2 separate regions of the Homo sapiens genome follow, and region 1 is linked to region 2. The links are contacts of gene promoters, found by promoter capture Hi-C in blood cells and fetal thymus (Javierre and others, 2016). All regions are on one chromosome and are shown on one strand. The core of a region is centred on a gene start or on the middle of the fragment in contact, and the rest is flanking DNA. Distances in the headings are between cores, read along the strand shown. Region 1 overlaps GSK3B-DT (GSK3B divergent transcript). Region 2 holds the start of ARHGAP31-AS1 (ARHGAP31 antisense RNA 1).

Region 1 (5,908 bases), core at 3,066-5,565, 780 kb before region 2:
CTTCTTACATGGTGGCAGCAAGAGAAAATGAGGAAGAAGCAAATGTGGAAACCCCAGATAAACCCATCAGATCTTGTGAGACTTACTCACTACCAGAATAGCAAGGGAAAGACTGGCCCCCCATGATTCAATTACATCCCACCGAGTCCCTCCCATGACAGATGGGAATTATGGGAGCTACAATTCAAGATGAGATTTGGGTGGGACACAGCCAAACCTCACTTGATGCAAGTTTGGCTGTGTCCCCATCCAAATCACTTGCTGATATGGTTTGGCCGTGTCCCCACCCACATCTCAACTCGAATTGTAGCTCCCAGAATTCCCACATGTAGTGGGAGGGACCTGGGGGGAGGTAATTGAATCATGGGGGCAGGTTTTTCCCATGCTGTTCTTGTGATAGTGAATAAGTCTCATGAGATGTGATGGTTTTATAAAGAGGAGTTCCCTTGCACATGCCCTCTTGCCTGCAGCCATGTAAGATGTCCTCTTCCTTTGCCCTCCACAGTGATTGTGAGGCCTCCCCAGCCATGTGGAACTGTGAGTCCATTAAACCTTTTTCCTTTACAAATTACCCAGTCTCGAGTATATCGTTATTAGCAGCATGAAAAGGAACTACTACAGCAAGGTTCAGGTTCTTAAAATAGCATTTTAAGTGGAAATTACATACTTTCAAAATTACCCTTTACAAGACCTTAAATATCAATAAATTTAGTCAGGCCAGTTTTTCCTCCAGTATTGGAATGTATCACTCTTTCTTTGGTTGAGCACCAGATGAAGAATTGTATTTGACTTGCATATATGGGTTGTGTTGTTAAAAAAAAAAAAGCCCTGAACTGTTTTTAAAAACTACCAATACTTTCATTTTCGTGAAATGGTAACACAAATAAGAACCTTGCGGAAATGGGGACCACCAAGTGAGGAAACAGCAGATGGACCTCCCATTCTCATATTCTATATGAGCTATTGATTACATTAACTCTATATGAGCTATCTGATTACATTAATAATGAACTAATTAGGAATAGTTTCGCAATCCGTATTTCATTGGCTCCTGTCTTTGCTTGCTGATGCCGAACTTCAGCTCCTTGCAAAATCCTCTGCCCATAATTTCTAAGAGCCCCTACACAGTGTTTTACATGGGCTCAAGAATAAGGCATATCTGCGGCCACGTGGATATCTGCTGCTGAGTTTTCTTGAACACTTCTAGTACTCATCAGTGAGCCAGCCCCATTAAGCCAGGTCATTACCATGTGCTGCTGGACATCTTCATGACCTCCGTTGTGGCCCTCAAAGAATCAAAATGCTTGTTTCCTGGAATCTCCAATACTGCAAAATCGTGCCATCATTTTCTGCACAAGTGGCAACAAGCTGTAACCCCTCATCTTTTGATTATGTTGTGTGATGTAGTAATGATTTTAGTGCACTCCTATTTCTGCTCTTGGTACTTTCCTAGTGGACTCCACGAGGCTGTATTGGAATATGAATCTTCAAGATAGGTAAGGTGTCATTCCCTCAATCCAAGGATTAACAGCTGGCATGGCATGGGCACTGACCAACTGGAACACTGGCTGGTGCACTGTAGCTGTGCAAATTGACTGAAAAGCAGTCTGGCCAACCCCCACCTCTCTGTCATCCACACTTCTTGGCAGTCTTTCCACCAAAACCCTTATGTAAATCACCTCTTGGCAGCCTGAAACTACCAATTTGCCAGATATGCCATGACATGTTTGAAGCCTGGTGGTGAACGGAGACTTGCCCCAAGCTGTGATTCTATTTGAATGCATCTAATTAAGAAATTTTGATACTCAAATTATATTGTAGAACCGATAATAGGAAAAAAATTAATGTAAGAAAAAATTCAGAAAACTAAAAAATTAATAAAACAACTTTTTTGGGGGGAGTATTTTCTCAGAGTGCTTGTCCATATGCAGATATTTTATAAAGTTGTAATTTTGATGGTTATAATTGTTTCGCTTTTTCAATTACAATCACACTACTCATTTTGCCAACATTTACTGAGTTCCCACGATGTGCACAGCATTGACTGAGATCAAGAGAAATGCCTTACACCTCCATGTAATTCTATTTATACTGGAAGAAAGTTAGATAATGAAGGCAAAGCATGTGCGTGTCCTCATTTGGCAACTCCCTGTTGATGAATTCTTTTTTTCCCACTAGATGGTTTCTCTGGTGCTTAGAAGTACTTCACTTTAACTCCTCTCATGCCAGATTAAAAGCTTAACCTCCATAGGATAGTTTGCTTCCTCAGAGTTCCAGCTGATATGGCTGTGTAAGATATTTGTTTTTAATTCTAAAAGGGTCCAAGAGCCTTTGGCCTTGGAAATATTTTTAAAATGCAGTTGAATAAACCAGTTAGGTTTTAAAGCATATACAGCAGTTTTCTCAATTTGTTGCAAGCAAATGTTTCCCACCATATGTGGCACAGACCTGGGCACACAGTAGACAACAAGCACTTCCTGGTGGAATTAGGATATTCGTGTCTTTTCATGTGTTGTCCAACACAGGCCAGCAAAATTTATGAAATTCTATATAATCATATTTAAAGTCCTTAAGGATAAAAAGTACAATTGGAACACTTTTGATAAGAAGACTAAAAATGAAAACTGTATTCAAATTGTCAAGAAGTGGTTAGAGAAAGTAGAAGTGTACTCAACTGTCTCGGACATGTTGAGTCCTCAAAAAAAAAAAAAAAAAAAAAAAAAAGAAAAAAAACCAGACTGGGTATAGTGGCTCACACCTGTAATCCCAGCACTCTGGGGGCCAAGGTGGGAGGATTGCTTGAGGCCAGGAGTTCAAGACCAGTCTGGACAACGTAGGAAGACCTCTGCCTTTACAAAAATAAAAAAATTAGCTAGGTCAGTTGTGTGCCTGTAAGTCCCAGCTACTTGGGAGGCTAAGGCGGGAGGATTGCTTTATCCCTGGAGGTAGGCTGCAGTGAGCCATGATCACACATCTGCACTCCAGCCTGGGTGACAGAGCAACAAATTATCTAAACAATAACAACAACAATAAAAACAAACAAACAGAAAAGAAAAAACAATCAGAGTTGATATTTTCCTAAGACTCCTAACTGGTCCTAAGAGTAGCAAGATTTAGTTAGGGGAATAATGGTTATTTTTCCTAAATTACTACTTTTATCTTCAAGTACTGAACACTACTAGTGCATACACAATATACATTGTAAAAATAAAGAACAACAGCACCAGCCTGGACAACATGGCAAGACCCTGTCTCTACAAAGTAATTAAAATAGCTGGGTGTGGTGGCATGCACTTGTAGCCCCAGCTACTGCGGGGGAAGGGGGCAGTGGCAGGGCATGGCTGAGGCAGGAGGGTTGACCTGAGCCCAGGAGTTTGAGGTTGCAGTGAGCTATGATCACACCACTGCACTCCAGCCTGGGCAGCAGAGCGAGACCCCATCTCTAAAAATAAAAATAAAAAAATAAGACAGCAGAGATAGTAAAACATCTTAAAACTGAGCTATAAACTCTCATAAGGATCCTTTCTGGTTTCATATCTGGCACTTCATACTACTGTCTGATCTAGATGTTACAGAGAAACACATTCCTTGAGGCTTTGTACATTCCTTCCCATTTTCTTTCAAGATTCCATCCTACAGGGCACAGGAATGAAGCATCCTGATACAATTCAAATAAAGTTTTGGCCTGATTAAGGGAGACCAGTCCTCTCTGCATTCTGAAATTCCTTTTTGGATGATCCATAGGAGGTCTTACTTTTTTTTCACTTCCCTGCACCCCTGGCCAAGGATATTCAATATCCAAGAAACCAAATACCAATTTTCTTGTAGCTTTCACATTTCCCATCAACATGACATAGATTAAAGACCAAAAGACTTCTGTTCCATTCTGAGAGATGTGAGTCCCATTTCCATGTGAAGGAAATCTGACCGTTCCCGATTTACAGCTACTGAGGGCCTAAAATATTTGTTCTGAGAATTTCTCAGGCCTATATTTATTACATTTTAATGCACATAAAACAAAGCTGAATTCCTAGAATTTGCTGTAAAGAAGTATACTTCAAGTATTCAATCAACACATACTGTTTTCAATTCATTTATTCAATGTGAAAATATTTACACTCTTGTATAAAAAAGCTCTTTTCAAAAAATGTGAATGGAAATGAGGTAAAATAAATAAAATTGAAGTAGTTCAAAATAATCTAATCGGTAATAATATAGTAAACCACATGATTATACCCTTAGAAGTAAACATGTGACAAGCATGAAAAACTAAAAGGATTTGTTAGAGGCATGTGAACCAGAGCAACTCCATCTTAAACAGGAGCCGGGCAAAATGAGGGTGAAATCTATTGGGCTGCATTCCCAGATGGTCAGTTAAGGCATTCTAAGTCACAGGATGAGATAGGAGGTCAGCACAAAATACAGGTCTTAAAGACCTTGCTGATAAAACAGGTTGCAGTAAAGGAGCTGGCCAAAACCCACCAAAACCAAAATGGCGACGAGAGTGACCTCTGGTCGTCCTCACTGCTACACTCCCACCAGTGCCATGACAGTTTACAAATGTGCCATGACAGTTTAGACCCTATGTGGTCCAAAAAGGGGAGGCATGATTAATCCACTCCTTGGTTAGCATATCATCAAGAAACGACCATAAAGAATGGGCAACCAGGCCAGGTGCGGTGGCTTATGCCTGTAATCCCAGTACTTTGGGAGGCCAAGGCGGGCAGATCAACTGAGGTCGGAAGTTCAAGACCAACCTGACCAACATGGAGAAACCCTCACTCTACTAAAAACACAAAATTAGCCGGGCGTGGTGGCGCATGCCTGTAATCTCAGCTACTCGGGAGGCTGAGGCAGAATTGCTTGAACCTGGGAGGTGGAGGTTGTGGTGAGCCGAGATCACGCCATTGCACTCCAGCCTGGGCAACAAGAACGAAAACTCCATCTCAAAGGAAAAAAAAAAAAGGGCAACCAGCAGCCCTCAGGGCTGCTCTATGTAGTAGCCATTCTGTTATTCCTTCATTTTCTTAATACTTGCTTTGACTTTTGCACTGTGGGGTCACCCTGAATTCTTTCTTGTGTGAGATCCAAGAACCCTCTCCTGGGGTCTGGATCATGACCCGTTTCCTGTAACAGATTCAAGTGTTTTTCTTTTATTTTCTATAGTATACTCCTTTAAGATGTCAAAATCAGAGTATTTATATAATTTGCCAAAGGCTTGATATGCAACTTTTCATACAACCAGTCTATTTCACAGTGACAGTGTTTCAAACACTCTCCCTCTTCTTTTTGGGTAGTCATTCATTAATTTCCCATTTGGGCACACCTCACTGGTTATAAGACACATAACCAACTATGCCACATCTTGTTACTCTGGGCATATTTTCAGCAACAGGAAAAACCACAGTGTATGTTACTTCAGAGGCTTTCCTATAATGGTAATGTCTTACATCTGCTAAAGTACCTCTCCACTGTCTACAGGACAAAGCCCAGTTTTTTTTTTTTTTTTTTCCTGTAACAAAGCTCCCTCAAACCTACCTTTTCAACCTTATCTTCCATTAGTCTTCTCTATCAGCTTTTTGTTCCAGCCAAACTGGTTTTCCCAAAGTCAGAAGAACAGAGTCACACTGTCCTTAATTGCTGTTACAGCTCCACCCACATGCAGGTTTACTAAAGAGAGGTTTTATCTGATGGGTTGAAATTGAAGTGATGGAAAGTAATTTACCTCCCCTCTTCTTTCTTCATCTTCAAATCCTACTACTCCTCCTTTAAGATCACTTTAGATTGAAGTGTCCTCCACTCACCTATTATAAATAGGAATGCATGGGCAATTTATTTTAAACTTTGTAGTAACAACCATATTAACAAATTATAGGCCAGGCATGGTGACTCACGCCAGTAATCCTAG
Region 2 (6,003 bases), core at 2,021-4,520:
TAGTAGAGACCGGGTTTCACCATGTTGGCCAGGGTGGTGTTGAACTCCTGACCCTAGGTGATCCACCCGCCTCAGCCTCCCAAAATGCTGGGATTACAGGCGTGAGCCACCGTGCCCAGCCCTGGGAAGCTTTTAAAAATACCAATGCCTAGTTCCACCTTCAGAGATTCTGATTTAATCAGTATGGGTGACAGCTAGGCATCAAAAAAAATTTTTAAAAACTTCCCAGGTGATTCTAATATTAAGCGAAGTTTGAAAATTACTGGTAGCTCCTCTCTCCTTTCCCTGAGTTTCTTCTCGCCACTGTTTTGCCCTAGCTGTCAAACAGCCTGCCTTCAGGCTAAGTCATTTCCGTCCCCCCCTTCCCCCCCAACCCCCGCCATCCCCACCAGGTGGATTCTTGGGTATACAGAACTAGGAGAAGCTAGCTTCCCCTCCACCCTTTCTCCCCTGGTTCAAAGGCTCTGGGACTGGCCCATAGAGGCCTTCCCAGAATACAGGACTGCAACAGTGTGAGTGGGAAGAGGCAGACCCAGGGCAGACTCCCGACCCAGCAGTGTGGCCTTAGGTAAGCCTCCTTGGGCAAGCCACTAAAATATGTTGCCTGTAAAGGGGGAACAACATCTCTGAAATCAGCCTGTAGAGTCACAGCGTCTTGGGAAGATCAACAGAGATGATATGTGAATGTGTTTCTAAAATATTAATGTGCATGACAGCTGCGATGGTTTCCTATCCTAGGACAACCATTTCAAATTTAAAAATCTTCCTTTCCCCTACTTCCCACACAACTAAGTAAGAATTTTAAGCAAAATTTTATCTTAGCATCCAAAAAAGATGAATATGCATGTGTAGTATCTGTGTTGATATAGGTAGGTATGATTCAACAGTTACAGCTTGCTGCATCACTAGTTACTAGAAGGCAGTGATTCTGTGACTTGAAGATATTTTAATTAGCACCAAACACACTGAGAGTGTTCAATAAACATTAACCAATGAGGCCTAATTTAAGACGGCATCATATAAGTCCACACTATGCCACTATTGACATGAGGAGTACTGCTTATTGCTTACCCAAATGACACATTTTCACCTTTTAAGTAAAGTATAGCACCTTCATTTAGCCATTCCGCTGATCTGCAAACTGAGAGACCAAGAGACCTTGGTTTATTCAAAATTGGTTCTCTGTTTTACTAAAAGGAGTCGTCCATTAAAAGTTATGCTCAATACTAAATACCAGTTAGAATAGATACAACTGTGCTGCCTTCACCTACACTAAGGGCTAGGGGTTGAGAGTAGAGAAAGACTCCTCTCCCCACTCTTTGTTTTTCCACGTCTATCCTTAAACATTCTTTGAGGATCTGATTCTCGAAAGGGTTTTTGTTGTTTATGTTTGTTTGTTTGTTTCTTTTAATAGCTACAAATCTCCTTGGGAGGGACAAGGAACCTTGATGTGAACCACATGTGGAATACAGCAATGGTACCCAAGCTTTTTGGATTTCACAGATCAAGTTTAAAAGATTTTGGGGGATCTACCTAGGACTGCTAATTTTTTATTTTTCTGAGAGAGGACATCAACCAACAATAACTATCGTATTTCATAACAGAATGGACAATTCAAAATAACTAAAACTATGAAGCATATAGTCTTAGAATAAAGAATTGTCCTGTTCAAGAAAGGACAAGTGTAACCTTAAAATTGTTATAATACATCCGGATAAATTTATTACATAGATGGCCCTACATTTCCTATGGGTCTGCGGTTGTGAGCCACTGTTCTAGACGGCTAGGAGGGTTTGAAGTGAGTTGAGAACCTTTACTGTCCTGAAGATGGGGTAGGGGCTAGACAAGGGTATATTCTAAAAAGAGGAAAGCGCTACTGTAATAATCTTGCCTAGGATTACATACAGATGGGCATAACAGAGTCCCAGGACTTCACCCCTTCGGTGTAGAGCAGGGATGGCAGGGATGGCAAGAGCCCCACTTAGGATACCTGGAAAAAGAAATCTCCGCAGCAAAGGGTCCTTGTGCTGACTTTTCTTTTTCATTTACGAGTGTACCCTCTGTCTCCTTGGGGGCCCACCTTCTTATTCCCAGCAGGAAAGGGGAAGGGGGAGGACAGGAAATGTGGAAACCGCGTTAACAGCCTGATTGTGAACCAGCACTGCGACTGAGATGCGAGGAGGGAAGGACAAAAGTCCCTCCCTCGCTTTTCAAAAAGTAAGCCACAAAAGTTATAGAAACATTTTCTATTAAACATCATCTCCATTTTGCAGAGAACCTAAGGCTCCGAGGACTTGCCCAGGGCCATACAGCCGGTGAGCCCCAGGGCTCAGCCACAGCCCAGGTAACGAGGACAGGGCTTGCTCCAGCCACCATTGGCTGCCTCTTCGGCCTCCCTCTCTCAGGTGAGACAGTATGTCAGGTGAGGCAACTGAAACAATGTCCCTCAGTTCGGATGCATCCTCCCTCTTCGTTTCCTGTCATGAGACAGGTTTCTCCTCTTCCTGGATGTGGTTAAAAAAAAAAGAAGAAGAAAAGAAACAAAAGAAAAAAGGAAAGAAACGCAAAGCAAAGCCAAGCCCAACGTCTTGGCTCTCAGGGTTGCACCTCCTTTCTCTACCCGCGGGGTCTGGGCCGGCGGGGTGTGGCCGCAGCCCTGGGGCGCGAGAAGCCCATCCGGGCCCGAGGTGCTGGGCGGCCTGGAGCGCTGGCTGCCCCCAGGGCCGGCGGCTGTCCCTGGGGTTTCCCCGCTTCTGGGCTTTCCCCGCTTCTGGGCTCGGTGGCCGCGCGGGCGGGCGCCAAGTGACTCAGCCGTCCCCGAGGGCGTTCCGGGAAGCGGCCGGGGGCGCGGGCTTTCCTGTCGCCGCAGCGTGTGAGTCCCCAGCGCCGAAAGGGGATCAGAAACCGCTGGGCGGAGCAGCGGGAGGAAGCTGCGGCGCGCAGAGCAGAGTCAGCGCCACCGTCTTTCGAGCTGGAGCGGAGGGAACGTGGCCTTGACGTTGCTGAAGCTGAAGCGCCGGGCGGGCGCCCGGACCCCGGGGCGGGGCAGAAACGAGTCCGTTCCCTACTGCGGGGCGGGGGCAGGGCTGGAACGGGAGTTCAGGAGGGACAAGGACGTGGAAGGAGCCCAGCAGAGGGCACCCGGGACCCCCGCGGCCGGGCCGAGTTTGAAGGGAGCCCCTCTCCCCCTCCCCCTGGCGGAGCCCCCTGTAGGGTCTGACCTGGTGCCCCGCAACAGGAGCGGGAGGAGGAGCAGGCCCAGAGCGGCCGGGCCCCAGCCTAGAGGGGCGCTCGAGGGGAAGCGAGTGAAGTGAGGGCTCCGCCAGAGCAGCACCCCCTTCCCCGCCGTCCCTCCCGGACTGGCCGGTTCTCGTCAGAGATTCCTTTGTCTTCGACGCTGGTCCCTCCACACCAAGGTGGGAGGCTGAGGTGGGAGGTGGCAGAGCGGTGGGAGTGGGAGCAAGGCCGGAGCGTGGGTGGAGGCGCTGGCCGCGGGCTTGCAAGGATGGCACAAGGGAGACATCCAGGACAAACCATGGGGAACACAGCTGCCACTGAGAGAAGCTGCCCGGAGGAGGAAGGGGCTGCAAAGTTCAACCACCAGGCAAGGCAAGTCCACGAACAAAATCCCGGCTCTAAAAACAGAGCAGCAATTGTCACTGTGGGTTAGACGCTTTGAGTTACCTCTATTTTCATTTATGTCTAAGATAAATTCAAGAGACAAGGAGAAAGTCAGGAGGTTAAAATTCCAGCCTCTGGTCCCAGCTCCCTAAAGCCAGCTCCCTTCTTGTCTTTGCCAAAGTTTGCTTCTATGAATCAGTAATTAACCCCCACTTTTTTTCTTATGTCAGAGTTCCTTCAGTCACAACCAAGAGAGTTCTGACTAATAACACACCTTTTAATCCAGCAATTTTACTTCTGGGAGTTTATTCCAAAGAAATATTACATAACAAAAGAGCCATATGCCTCACAATATTCACTGTGGGCTTGTTCATAAAATTAAAACAATCATAACTATAAATGTCCAGTAATGGAGGCAGGGAATAAACTGGCATATTTATATGATAAACTACTATGGGCCGGGCGTGGTGGCTCACGCCTGTAATCCCAGCACTTTGGGAGGCTGAGGCGGGCAGATCACCCGAGGTCAGAAGTTCAAGACCAGCCTGGCCAACATGGCGAAACCCCGTCTCCACTAAAAATACAAAAACAAGTTAGCTGGGCGTGGTGGTGTGGGCCTATAGTTCCAGCTACTTGGGAGGCTGAAGCAGGAAAATCACTTGAGCCCGAGAGGTAGAGGCTTCAATGAGCTGAGATCGTGACACTGCACTCTGGCCTGGGCAACAGAGCGAGTCTCCGTCTCAAAACAAAACAAAACCTACGGAGCCTTAAAATGTTATATGTAGGGTTTTATAACTTGAATAAAGACTTCGGTTATAAGAAAGCAAGACACAAAATCATATATATATATAATATATATATACACACACACAGTGTAATCACAATATGAAAATGTACATAGAAAAAAAACACTTGAAGGAAATCCACCAAAATGTTACATCTTTGGGTGATAGAATTACATACAAGTATTTTTTTCTTTCTAAAACATTTATGTATTTCCCAATTTATCTACAATGAGGATAAGCATGTATTATTAAAAAGTATGAAAACATTGATTTTAAAATTTTACATATATAGTATATAATTATATATACATAATACATATATATATACTATATATATATATATAGTATATATATATATGTGAAATTGCTGCTGAATAGGAAATCACCGGGCCTGGGTGAAAGATGATAAAATTTACTTGAGCAATTTTTCCACTAATTGAATGATTTTTCTGCAATTTAAAAAGGGTATATGGAAGTTAAAGAGGATGGGTCAATGTTTATACATCTGTATTAGTTCGTTTTCACACTGCTGATAAAGACATACTGGAGACTGGGCAATTTACAAAAGAAAGAGGTTTAATGAACTTGCAGTTCCACATGGCTGGGGAGGCCACAAGTCATGGTGGAAGATTAAAGGCACTCAAGAGAAGAGAGAGCTTTTGCAAGGAGACTCCCGTTTTTCAAAACCATCAGATCTCGTGAGACTTACTCACTATCACAAGAACAGCCCGAGAAAGGCCTGGCCCCATGATTCAATTACCTCCCACCAGGTCCCTCCCACAACACGTGGGAATTCAAGATGAGATTTGGGTGGGGATACAGCCAAACCATATCAATGTCCAAGATATTAGTGAAAGGGAAGGGCATGCCACAGTAGGCCAGAGGAGAGAAAACATCTGAGTTTTAGAATACACAAAAAGAAAATGATGAGATCGCAGCTGATTCTTGATTGGTGAGGACTTGCTGGTTTGTGGGCAGAAGTAATGGAACTTTTAATGGCAAAGGGAAGAATACACTCAAACATTATTTAAGATAGGAGGTAAGGGAGTAATGGGTAAGGTTACTGCATCATGAAAAGTTTTGTTTACAATGGGTTTACTGTATTTATCAGGATAATATTTTTTAATCCTGAAGAATAGGTGTGCAAAATGAATTTAACATCTTCACATTTGGCCCAAGGTTGTTGATACCAGTATTATTATCTTACCTTAGCAATAGGATGAGTATGCTTATTTTGGGTTGGAAAATGCCTAATGATCATGTAGCCCCTTATTTGGGGCCTATTCCTCTTCTATAGGGAGGGAAGGAAGAATATCAAGAAAGCCTCATGTCTAAGTGCCCTGTATCCCTGGAGATCTTTATGTAGCAGCAGAGAATAGACACTGATAAAACCAAGTTTCGCTAGTTTGAGAACTGTTCAGTCTTGTGGGAGGATCTGGTAGAAGGGAGAATGCAGCAATATCCTTCAAGTAATACTACATACCATACCTTGAACAAGGAATGTAGCATAAACTGGTGAGGACCTGTGTTATGATAAAAGGCAAAGCTTTTGCTCTGGGATTGAAATCTAGGACTCTCTGTGGGGTAGATGTAGAAT

The links. The method cuts DNA at HindIII sites, captures the fragments that hold promoters and counts their contacts. A CHiCAGO score of 5 or more calls a contact.
Region 1: a contact is called between a fragment that was not itself captured here and the fragment with the promoter of ARHGAP31-AS1 in region 2, in 1 of 17 cell types (non-activated CD4 T cells). The highest score is 5.1, in non-activated CD4 T cells.

What each region holds. Positions count from the first base shown.
Region 1 is chr3:120,098,610-120,104,517 of GRCh38, reverse strand. All of the region lies in intron 1 of GSK3B-DT (GSK3B divergent transcript), which reads right to left. Among named protein-coding and RNA genes, the nearest start is that of GSK3B-DT, 6.5 kb to the right of the region's middle. The HindIII fragment of the contact is 4,151 bases long and covers 2,240-5,908 here.
Region 2 is chr3:119,320,027-119,326,029 of GRCh38, reverse strand. ARHGAP31-AS1 (ARHGAP31 antisense RNA 1) reads left to right here and starts at 3,270. Exons shown (of 2, transcript NR_046748.1): 1 at 3,270-3,416. The region is part of intron 1 of ARHGAP31 (Rho GTPase activating protein 31); the gene reads right to left. RefSeq lists enhancers at 1,885-2,741, 2,742-3,599 and silencers at 2,563-2,912, 2,963-3,322. The HindIII fragment of the contact is 4,466 bases long and covers 1,489-5,954 here.